Regions from separate parts of the Homo sapiens genome. Here all the other regions are linked to region 3. The links are contacts of gene promoters, found by promoter capture Hi-C in human tissues and cell types (Jung and others, 2019). All regions are on one chromosome and are shown on one strand. The core of a region is centred on a gene start or on the middle of the fragment in contact, and the rest is flanking DNA. Distances in the headings are between cores, read along the strand shown. Region 1 overlaps UTP4 (UTP4 small subunit processome component). Region 2 has its middle 9.4 kb from the start of SNTB2. Region 3 holds the start of PDF (peptide deformylase, mitochondrial).

Region 1 (3,012 bases), core at 287-2,786, 180 kb after region 3:
CTGCATTTTTAGAGAGTGGAAGAGTATCCCCATTCTTGCCTGAAACAAGAAACTTCCCTGAGATTTTTCTTATGAAAGAAAGAGTATTTGTACATTTTTCTTCTAAAAAGTTACTCCTTGGAAAAATGGAATCTCTATCAGTGGGAAATCAGAAAAATACAAGCTCACTGAGTAAGCTCACAATTTTTGAGGGGTATATGAAGAGAAAGCAGTGAGTACTTCTTTTGCTTCTATCCTCTGATACATCACTAATTCCCTGAAGCTCTAGTCCATAGCCAGGGACACAGGTGGAGTTTGTGTGGCCTCGATTTTAATCCACTGCAAATGAGAGGACTCAAACATTTCCTTAATAAGTCAAAAAGGCCACTAGGCTGTCACTCCAATAAGATCCATGTGATCTTCTTTTTCTACAGGATTATCATTACCCATCATTAAATCTTGTTGTTTTTCAACAGCCTGTTTTCACCTCAGTTAAGCTAGCGCAAACTACGATTCTTCAACCCTTACCTTGACTACACCCTGCAGCGCACCACCTAGAGCCATAAACTTTTAAGAGATGATCCAATATCCTGCTAAAGATTCTAATACTCTAAACAGCTTATTTGCTTTATCTAATGGGTGGGAAAACCATTAGTTAAAATGGACACAAAAGTCTACTTCAGTTTTTCTATAAGCAGAATTCCAACCGCAATTCTGATTTCTGGCTTCTCTCTCCAGTTTTCTTATTGAAAAAAACGTGCTCCCATCTTACCTGTTGCAACTGTGGATCCCAGTCGCCAAAGTTCTAAGTGATGAGCAAACTGGAAGAGGAGAAGCTGCCTCTTTTTAGAACAGGAGATGAGACATCGCTATATCCAAGAATCAAGAAGTTAAAAAAATAAGTCAGGGTCATCTACTGCCTTAGTACCAGATACAGTAGCACCACCTTAGCACATTTTTTACTGCTGAAATCCATTTCCTTGATAAATATTTCCTAAGTACTCCCATATGCCAGGCACTGCCCTGAGATCTATGAAGACGATGATGAATTAAAACATAGCTACTGCTCTCAACATGCTTCTAAAGGGGTGACACAGAATTAAATCAGCAATTAGACTTCAGTGTGCCAAGAATTTTAACACGGCTAAACACAGTATGTACTGAAAAATAAGGAGACAGGACATCTAACCTAGCTGTGTGGTGGTAAATACAGAAGCCCAGATGAGGTTCACTGGGAAAGACCAGTCAGGCGAAGGAGGCAGGGCAGAACATTCTGAGGAGGGTGATGGCATGTGACATAGCTCAAAGGTAAGAGTATTTGAGGGAACAAAAAGACCTTGAGAATGGCTAGCCTGGGTGGGGGTGCTACAAGCACGAGAGGTGCAAAAAGAAGCTGAAGGGCCAGGCCTGGATGGAGACAGGTTCTATAAGACACACTAAGGAAACTGTCTTTATGCTGAAGCCAACAGGGATAACCAGAGGCTTTGAAGCATGGAGTGATGAACAAAGGTGCTTTAAAACAGATCAATGGGCCTGGAGCAGTGGCTCATGCCTGTAATGCCAGCAATCGAGAGGCTGAGGTGCGAGGATTGCTTGAGACCAGGAGTTTGAGACTGGCCTGGGCAAGATAGTGAGATCTTGCCTCTATTAAAAAAAATAAAAAATAAAAAAATTAGCCGAGGCCGGGCACAGTGGCTCATGCCTGTAATCCCAGCACTTTGGGAGGCCAAGGCAGGTGGATCACCTGAGGTCAGGAGTTCAAGACCAGCCTGGCCAACATGGTGAAACCCTGTCTCTACTAAAAATACAAAAAAAATTACCTAGGCGTGGTGGCGGGTGCCTGTAATCCCAGCTACTAGGGAGGCTGAGGCAGGAGAATCGCTTGAACCCAGGAGACTGAGGTTGCAGTGAGCCGAGATTTCACTACTACACTCCAGCCTGGGCAACAAGAGCAAAGCTCTGTCTCAAAAAAAAAAAAAAAAAAAAAAGAAAAACAGAAATTAGCTGAGCCTGGTGGCGCATGCCTGCAGCTCCAGCAACTCGGGAGGCTGATGTGGGAGGACTGCTTGAGCTCAAGAAGCAGAGGTTACAGTGAGCCAAGATTACACCACTGCAGTGCAGCCTGGGTGACGGAGCAAGACCTTGTCTCAAAAAAACAAAAACAAATAAAATAAAATAAGATCAATGAAGAATAGGCTAGAATGACACAAATGCAAATAAAAGGACATGATTAAGAAGCTACTGTAAAGGAACCCAGATGAGAAAAGACACTGATCCAAACTAGGATGATGCCAGCGTAGACAAAGAGAAATGAATGACTCGATTCAAGAGATTATGAGGACTATGTTCAACCTCATCAAACCATATGCATTAAATATGTATGATTTTTAATATATCAAGTATGCCTCAATAGAGCTGTTGATCTATCTATCTATCTATCTATATCTATAACATATGTATAAAGATACTGATGAGTAGACTCAATGAGGTTTACTGCTTGAATGAATGGGGCAGCAGGTGTGGGGAGCAAGTTTTCTAGCTTGGGAAGATGGTACCATTTACCTAGAACACTGGAAGCCTGGGTTTTCCCGCTCCCACCCAGAATAGAGCCTACCCTGAAAGACAAACTAACAAAATTCCCATAACCCACAACTATTTGGAAAAGGGAAAAATTTCCCCAGAAACTGAACTAGGTGTGCTGCTGCATATCTCCTGCCCCCATAAATGTCTTTGCAGTGGCTTGCCTCAAAAACAGAAGGAATGAAGAAGGTAGCTACAGAAAGTCCTACAATATCTCCATGTCCCAGATGGTTAAAAAAAAAAAAAAGGCAGGGGCTGGGCACAGTGGCTCACGCCTGTAAGCCCAGCACTTTGGGAGGCCGAGGCGGGCGTATCACGAAGTCAGGAGATCAAGACCATCCTGGTTAACACAGTGAAACCCCACCTCTACTAAAAATAAAAAAATTAGCCGGGCGTGGTGGTGGGCACCTGTAGTCCCAGCCACTCGGAAGGCTGAGGCAGGAGAATGGCATG
Region 2 (2,803 bases), core at 156-2,655, 150 kb after region 3:
GAGGCCGAGGTGGGTGGATCATTTGAGGTCAGGGGTTCGAGACCAGCCTGGTCAACGTGGTGAAACCCTGTCTCCACTAAAAATACAAAAATTAGCCAGCCATGGTGGCAGGCACCTGTAATCCCAGCTACTTGGGAAGCTGAGGCAGGAGAATCGCTTGAACCCGGGAGGCGGAGGTTGCAGTGGGCCATGATCGTGCCACTGCACTCAAGCCTGGGTGACAAAGCGAGACTGTCTCAAAAAAAATAAAAAAATAAAAATTAAATTAAAAGTCTACTTTCCCCCTTCACCAGTTCTTTTTTTTTTTTTTTTTTTTTTTTTTTTTTTTTTTGAGATGGAGTCTCGCTGTGTCGCCCAGACTGGAGTGCAGCGGCCTGATCTCAGCTCACTGCAAGCTCCGCCTCCTGGGTTCATGCCATTCTCCTGTCTCAGCCTCCCGAGTAGCTGGGACTACAGGCACCTGCCCCCACGCCCGGCTAATTTTTTTATTTTTAGTAGAGACGGGGTTTCATCGTGTTAGCCAGGATGGTCTCGATCTCCTGACCTCGTGATGCGCCCGCCTTGGCCTCCCAAAGTGCTGGGATTACAGGCGTGAGCTACCGTGCCCGGCCTCTTTTTTTTTTTTTTTGAGATGAAGTTTCCCTCTTGTTGCCCAGACTGGAGTGCAATGGCACCATCTCGGCTCACTGCAACCTCCGCTTCCTGGGTTCAAGCAATTCTCCTGCCTTAGCCTCCCGAGTAGCTGAGATTACAAATGCCTGCCATCATGCCCAGCTAATTTTTGTATTTTTAGTAGAGACGGGGTTTTACCATGTTGGCCAGGCTGGTCTCGAATTCCTGACCTCAGGCGATACGGCTGCCTTGGCCTCCCACAGTGCTGGGATTACAGGTGTGAGCCACCACACCCAGCCTGGAGATTGAATCTTTAAAGAGGTAACTGAGTTAAAATGAGGTCACTGGGGTGGGCCCTAATCCAGTTTGACTGTTTTCCTTATAAGAAGAGATGAGGGCAGAGATACATGCATGGAGGGAAGACCATGGGAAGATGAAGGGAGAAGATGGTCATTTACAAGGCAAGGAGAGAGGCCTCAGAAGAAACCAATCCAGCCTGGCGTGGTGGCTCATGCCTGTAACCACAGCACATCAGGAGGCAGGAGGATCACTTGAGTCCAGGAGTTCGACACCAGCCTGGGCAATATAGCAAGACCTCGTCTCTACCAAAAAACAAAAAGCTAAAAAACAAGGCCAGGCACGATGGCTCACATCTGTAATCTCAGCATTTTGGGAGGCTGAGGCTGGCAGATCACTTGAGGTCAAGAGTTCAAGACCAGCCTGGCCAACATGGTAAAACTCCATCTCTACTAAAAATACAAAAATTAGCTGGGCATGGTGTTGCATGGTTGTAATCCCAGCTACTCAGGAGGCTGAGGTAGGAGAATCACTTGAACCTGGAAGGCGGAGGTTGCAGTGATCCAAGATTGCTCCACTGCACTCCAGCCTGGGCAACAGAGTGAGACTCTGTCTCAAAACAACCACCACCACCAAAAACAAACAAACAAACAAACAAACAAAAAATCCTGCTGACACCTTGATCTCAATCTCAGACCTTTAGCCTCCAGAACTATGAGAAAATAAATTTCTGGTCTGGCACAGTGGCTCACGCCTATAATCCCAGCACTTTGGGAGGCCAAGGCAGGTGGATTGCTTGAGTTCAGGAGTTCTAGACCAGCCTGGGCAACATAGTGAGACCCCATCTCTACAAAAAAATAGATCCTTGATTAAAAAAAAAAAAAAAAAAGAAAAAGGCCAGGTGCGGTGGCTCGTGCCTGTAATCCCAACACTTTGGGAGGCCGAGACGGGTGGATCACTTGAGATCAGGAGTTTGAGACCAGCCTGACCAACATGGTGAAACCCCATCTCTACTAAAAATACAAAAATTAGCTGGATGTGGTAGCACACACTTATTACCCCAGCTACTTGGGAGGCTGAGGCAGGAGAAGTGCTTGAACCCTAGAGGCAGAGGCTGCAGTGAGCTGAGATCGTGCCACTGCACTCCAGCCTGGGCATCAGAGTGAGACTCTATTCCAAAAAAAAAAAAGAAAGAAAAAGAAAAAATGACAGTTTGGGCTATTAAAAAAAAAAATTAGCCAGGTGTAGTGGCGCACACCTGTAGTTCTAGCTACTCAGGATGCTGAGGCCGGAGGATTGCTTGAGCCCAGGGGTTAAGGCTGCAATGAGTCAAGATTGAGCAACTGCAATCCAGCCTGGGCAACAGAGCCAGACCCTGTCTCCAAAAAAAAAAAAAGAAGTTATGTTGTTGAAGCCATCCCAATAGTGCTTTGTTATGGCAGCCCTAACATAGACCCCCCGTCACCTACACAACAGCCTGTTTTTTGCCTCCCTAACTTCCAGTCTCTTCTGCCCCTTACACAAATGGGCATTTTTACTGTCATTCCATTGAATGTGTGAGTGACTCACAGCTGTGTTTTCCACTGAATGAAAATTCTGGACCACAGACTGGAAGGCCCACCCCAACTGGTCTTATTTCTCACTACATGTTGGCTCAAGGACTCTGTATCCAAAACAACTTGTCTTTTCCACATACTTTCCTAAACTGCTTAGCTTCCTTCTGTGGAAACCACTCTATTGTGTGTGTGGTGTGTGTGTGTGTGTGTGTGTCTGTGTGTCAGGGTCTTGCTCTGTTCTCAGGCTGGAATGCAATGGTGTGGTCCCAGGTCACTGCAGCCTCAACCTCCCAGGCTCAAGCAAGTCTCCCACCTCAGCCTCTCGAGTAGCTAGGAAA
Region 3 (2,810 bases), core at 295-2,794:
TCCGCCCACCTCGGCCTCCCAAAGTGCTCGGATTACAGGCGTGAGCCACCACGCCCGTCCTAAAGTCTTTTTTCCAATTCACTTTCACGTCCTTGTCCCTTTGTGGTAGGAGAGGGGCTTGGTTGAGGCACAGCTTCCCAAAGGGCAATGGGTCAGTGCATCACACGTGCAAAGCCTGGCTGCCCTCTGCTTTTTCCCTGGTGCTGCCTGAGGTCTGGGTTCCTGCTGCAGGCACCCTACACTGCTGTTCCGTTACGTTCTGCTTCACAGTATAGCTTCCCATTCCCTGTAACAAAGGTGGTTTTTGCTGTATTAAAACATAGTAATTGATGGCTGGGCGCAGTGGCTCATGCCTGTAATCCCAGCACTTTGGGAGGCCGAGGCGGATGGATCACCTGAGGTTGGGAGTTTGAGACCAGCCTGGCCAACATAGTAACTCCGTCTCTACTAAAAATACAAAAATTAGCCTGGCATGGTGGCGGGCGCCTGTAATCCCAGCTACCACGGAGGCTGAGGCATGAGAACTGTTTGAACCTGGGAGGCAGAGGTTGCAGTGAGCAGCAATCACGCCACTGCACTCCAGCCTGGGCGACAGAGCGAGACTGTCTCAAAAAAAAAAATAGTAATGGCTCGTTTTTTTTCCCTTAAATTTCCTTTTTTTTTTTTTTTTTTTTTTTTGAGACGGAGTTTTGCTCTTGTGGCCCAGGCTGGAGTGCAATGGCGCGATCTCGGCTAACTGCAATCTCCACCTCCTAGGTTCAAGCGATTCTCCTGCCTTAGCCTTCCCAAGTAGCTGGGATTACAGGCCTGCGCCACCAAGCCCGGCTAATGTTGTATTTTTAAGAGAGATGGGATTTCTCCGTGTGGGTCAGGCTGGTCTCGAATTCCTGACCTCAGGTGATCCGCCCCCCCCTCCCCGGCCTCCCAAAGTGCTGGGATTACAGGCGTGAGCCACCGCGCCCGGCCTCCCTTAAATTTCTATATTGAGTTTTATTAGTAACTGTTTTCCATTTTGCTTTCCCCACGTCTGGGTTAGGCATTCCTCCCACTCAGCTCTCCAAGTACGGTAACCTAGGGCATGTGAACATCGGCGCCATTCAGGAGCCCCTCGCCTTTATCCTGCCAAAGAGAGAGACGCTTTTCACCCTGGATGACCAGGCGCTGGGGCCCGAGCTCACAGCTCCAGCACCAGAGCCTCCCGCCGAGGAGCCACGCCTGGAGCCCGCGGGCCCAGCCTGCCCGGAGGGAGGGCGAGCGGAGACGCAGGCCGAACCGCCCAGCGTGGGGCCCTAGCCGGCGTCCCCTGCCTCCAGAACGCGGTGCGTGAGGTTCCCGGCGCGGGGTGGCCAGGACTGCCTCGCCCTGGAAGGTCCGGGGCGGGTTCGGGAGGCGGGAAGGCGCTCCCGGGAGGAGAGCGGAAGGGGGCGGTGCTCACTGCCAGTCTAAGCAGGAAGGCGGGGATCCAGTCGCGGCTTCGCTGTGTGCTGGCCGACGGCGCTTCCCGGCGTGCCCCGCGCTGCGGCCGGAAGGGGCGGGCCGGGTCACTGTTAAGGGGGCCGCCATGGCCCGGCTGTGGGGCGCGCTGAGTCTTTGGCCACTGTGGGCGGCCGTGCCGTGGGGCGGGGCGGCAGCCGTCGGTGTCCGGGCTTGCAGCTCCACGGCCGCCCCGGACGGCGTCGAGGGCCCGGCGCTGCGGCGCTCCTATTGGCGCCACCTGAGGCGTCTGGTGCTGGGTCCTCCCGAACCGCCGTTCTCGCACGTGTGCCAAGTCGGGGACCCGGTGCTGCGCGGCGTGGCGGCCCCGGTGGAGCGGGCGCAGCTAGGCGGGCCCGAGCTGCAGCGGCTGACGCAACGGCTGGTCCAGGTGATGCGGCGGCGGCGCTGCGTGGGCCTAAGCGCGCCGCAGCTGGGGGTGCCGCGGCAGGTGCTGGCGCTGGAGCTCCCCGAGGCGCTGTGTCGGGAGTGCCCGCCCCGCCAGCGCGCGCTCCGCCAAATGGAGCCCTTCCCCCTGCGCGTGTTCGTGAACCCCAGCCTGCGAGTGCTTGACAGCCGCCTGGTCACCTTTCCCGAGGGCTGCGAGAGCGTCGCCGGCTTCCTGGCCTGCGTGCCCCGCTTCCAGGCGGTGCAGATCTCAGGTGCGGGCGGCGGGGACCGGGGCTGCTGGAGCAGCGCGCGCGTCTCTTCTGCCCGACTCCGCGAGAGCGCAGAAGTGGTCGCGGTTCATACGCCGGACCTCCCGCAGGAGCGAAGTGGGATGCGGGAGCGGAGAGGCCTCAGGACGGATAGAAGCTCCTGTGGGGTAGAGCCCGCTCAGATAGGACGCAGGGGCGAGGAGAGGTCCCCTAGTTCCGCTGTTACCTGACAGCCTGGCGTCTGCTTTCTGCTCCCTTGCTCTCTGAGGCAAACACGCTCTTCGGCCCCAGTTAGATCCGCCACGGTGGAGTTGGAGAAGTGGGGGTTAGCCCCCGCCAGCCTGACCCAGCCCAGGGGGCTAGGCCATTCCCCCGTGGTACCACAGGATGCCTCGCGGAATGCGGGCTCTGCTGGGGTCGGGGTGATTGTTCCTGCACAGCAAGCCCGTCGGTTCAAGATGGTCAGAAAAACAAGTGGGGTCTCAAGCTGCAGAACCTCTGTTAGGAGTTGGGAGCCCACAGGTACCTCAGAAGTGGGAGGAGTGTTCGGAAGGGTCGCACCGTAGAAAGATGATTTCTCATCTCAGCTCTACAGTGAGCTCGATAACCTAATTACCAGAGTTGGGAACCAGGTTGAACGCTTGGTAATGGACCGAGATGAGGGACGTTTTCCAGTTA

What was found. Contacts are between HindIII fragments. The study calls those that stand out against the background at their distance.
Region 1: a contact is called between a fragment that was not itself captured here and the fragment with the promoter of PDF in region 3, in 2 of the 25 tissues and cell types used here (IMR-90 fibroblasts and lymphoblastoid cells).
Region 2: a contact is called between a fragment that was not itself captured here and the fragment with the promoter of PDF in region 3, in 1 of the 25 tissues and cell types used here (thymus).

The regions. Positions count from the first base shown.
Region 1 is chr16:69,151,420-69,154,431 of GRCh38, reverse strand. It overlaps UTP4 (UTP4 small subunit processome component), which reads right to left. Exons shown (of 17, transcript NM_032830.3): 9 at 752-848; 10 at 1-39. Among named protein-coding and RNA genes, the nearest start is that of UTP4, 20 kb to the right of the region's middle. The HindIII fragment of the contact is 8,255 bases long and covers 1-3,012 here.
Region 2 is chr16:69,176,323-69,179,125 of GRCh38, reverse strand. No RefSeq gene overlaps it. Among named protein-coding and RNA genes, the nearest start is that of SNTB2, 9.4 kb to the left of the region's middle. The HindIII fragment of the contact is 6,249 bases long and covers 1-2,803 here.
Region 3 is chr16:69,329,322-69,332,131 of GRCh38, reverse strand. PDF (peptide deformylase, mitochondrial) reads left to right here and starts at 1,544. Exons shown (of 2, transcript NM_022341.2): 1 at 1,544-2,135. The coding sequence starts at 1,562. COG8 (component of oligomeric golgi complex 8) reads left to right here. Exons shown (of 6, transcript NM_032382.5): 5 at 1,037-1,319. The coding sequence ends at 1,293. RefSeq lists enhancers at 235-882, 1,531-2,178 and silencers at 1,107-1,496, 1,527-1,906. The HindIII fragment of the contact is 3,727 bases long and covers 850-2,810 here.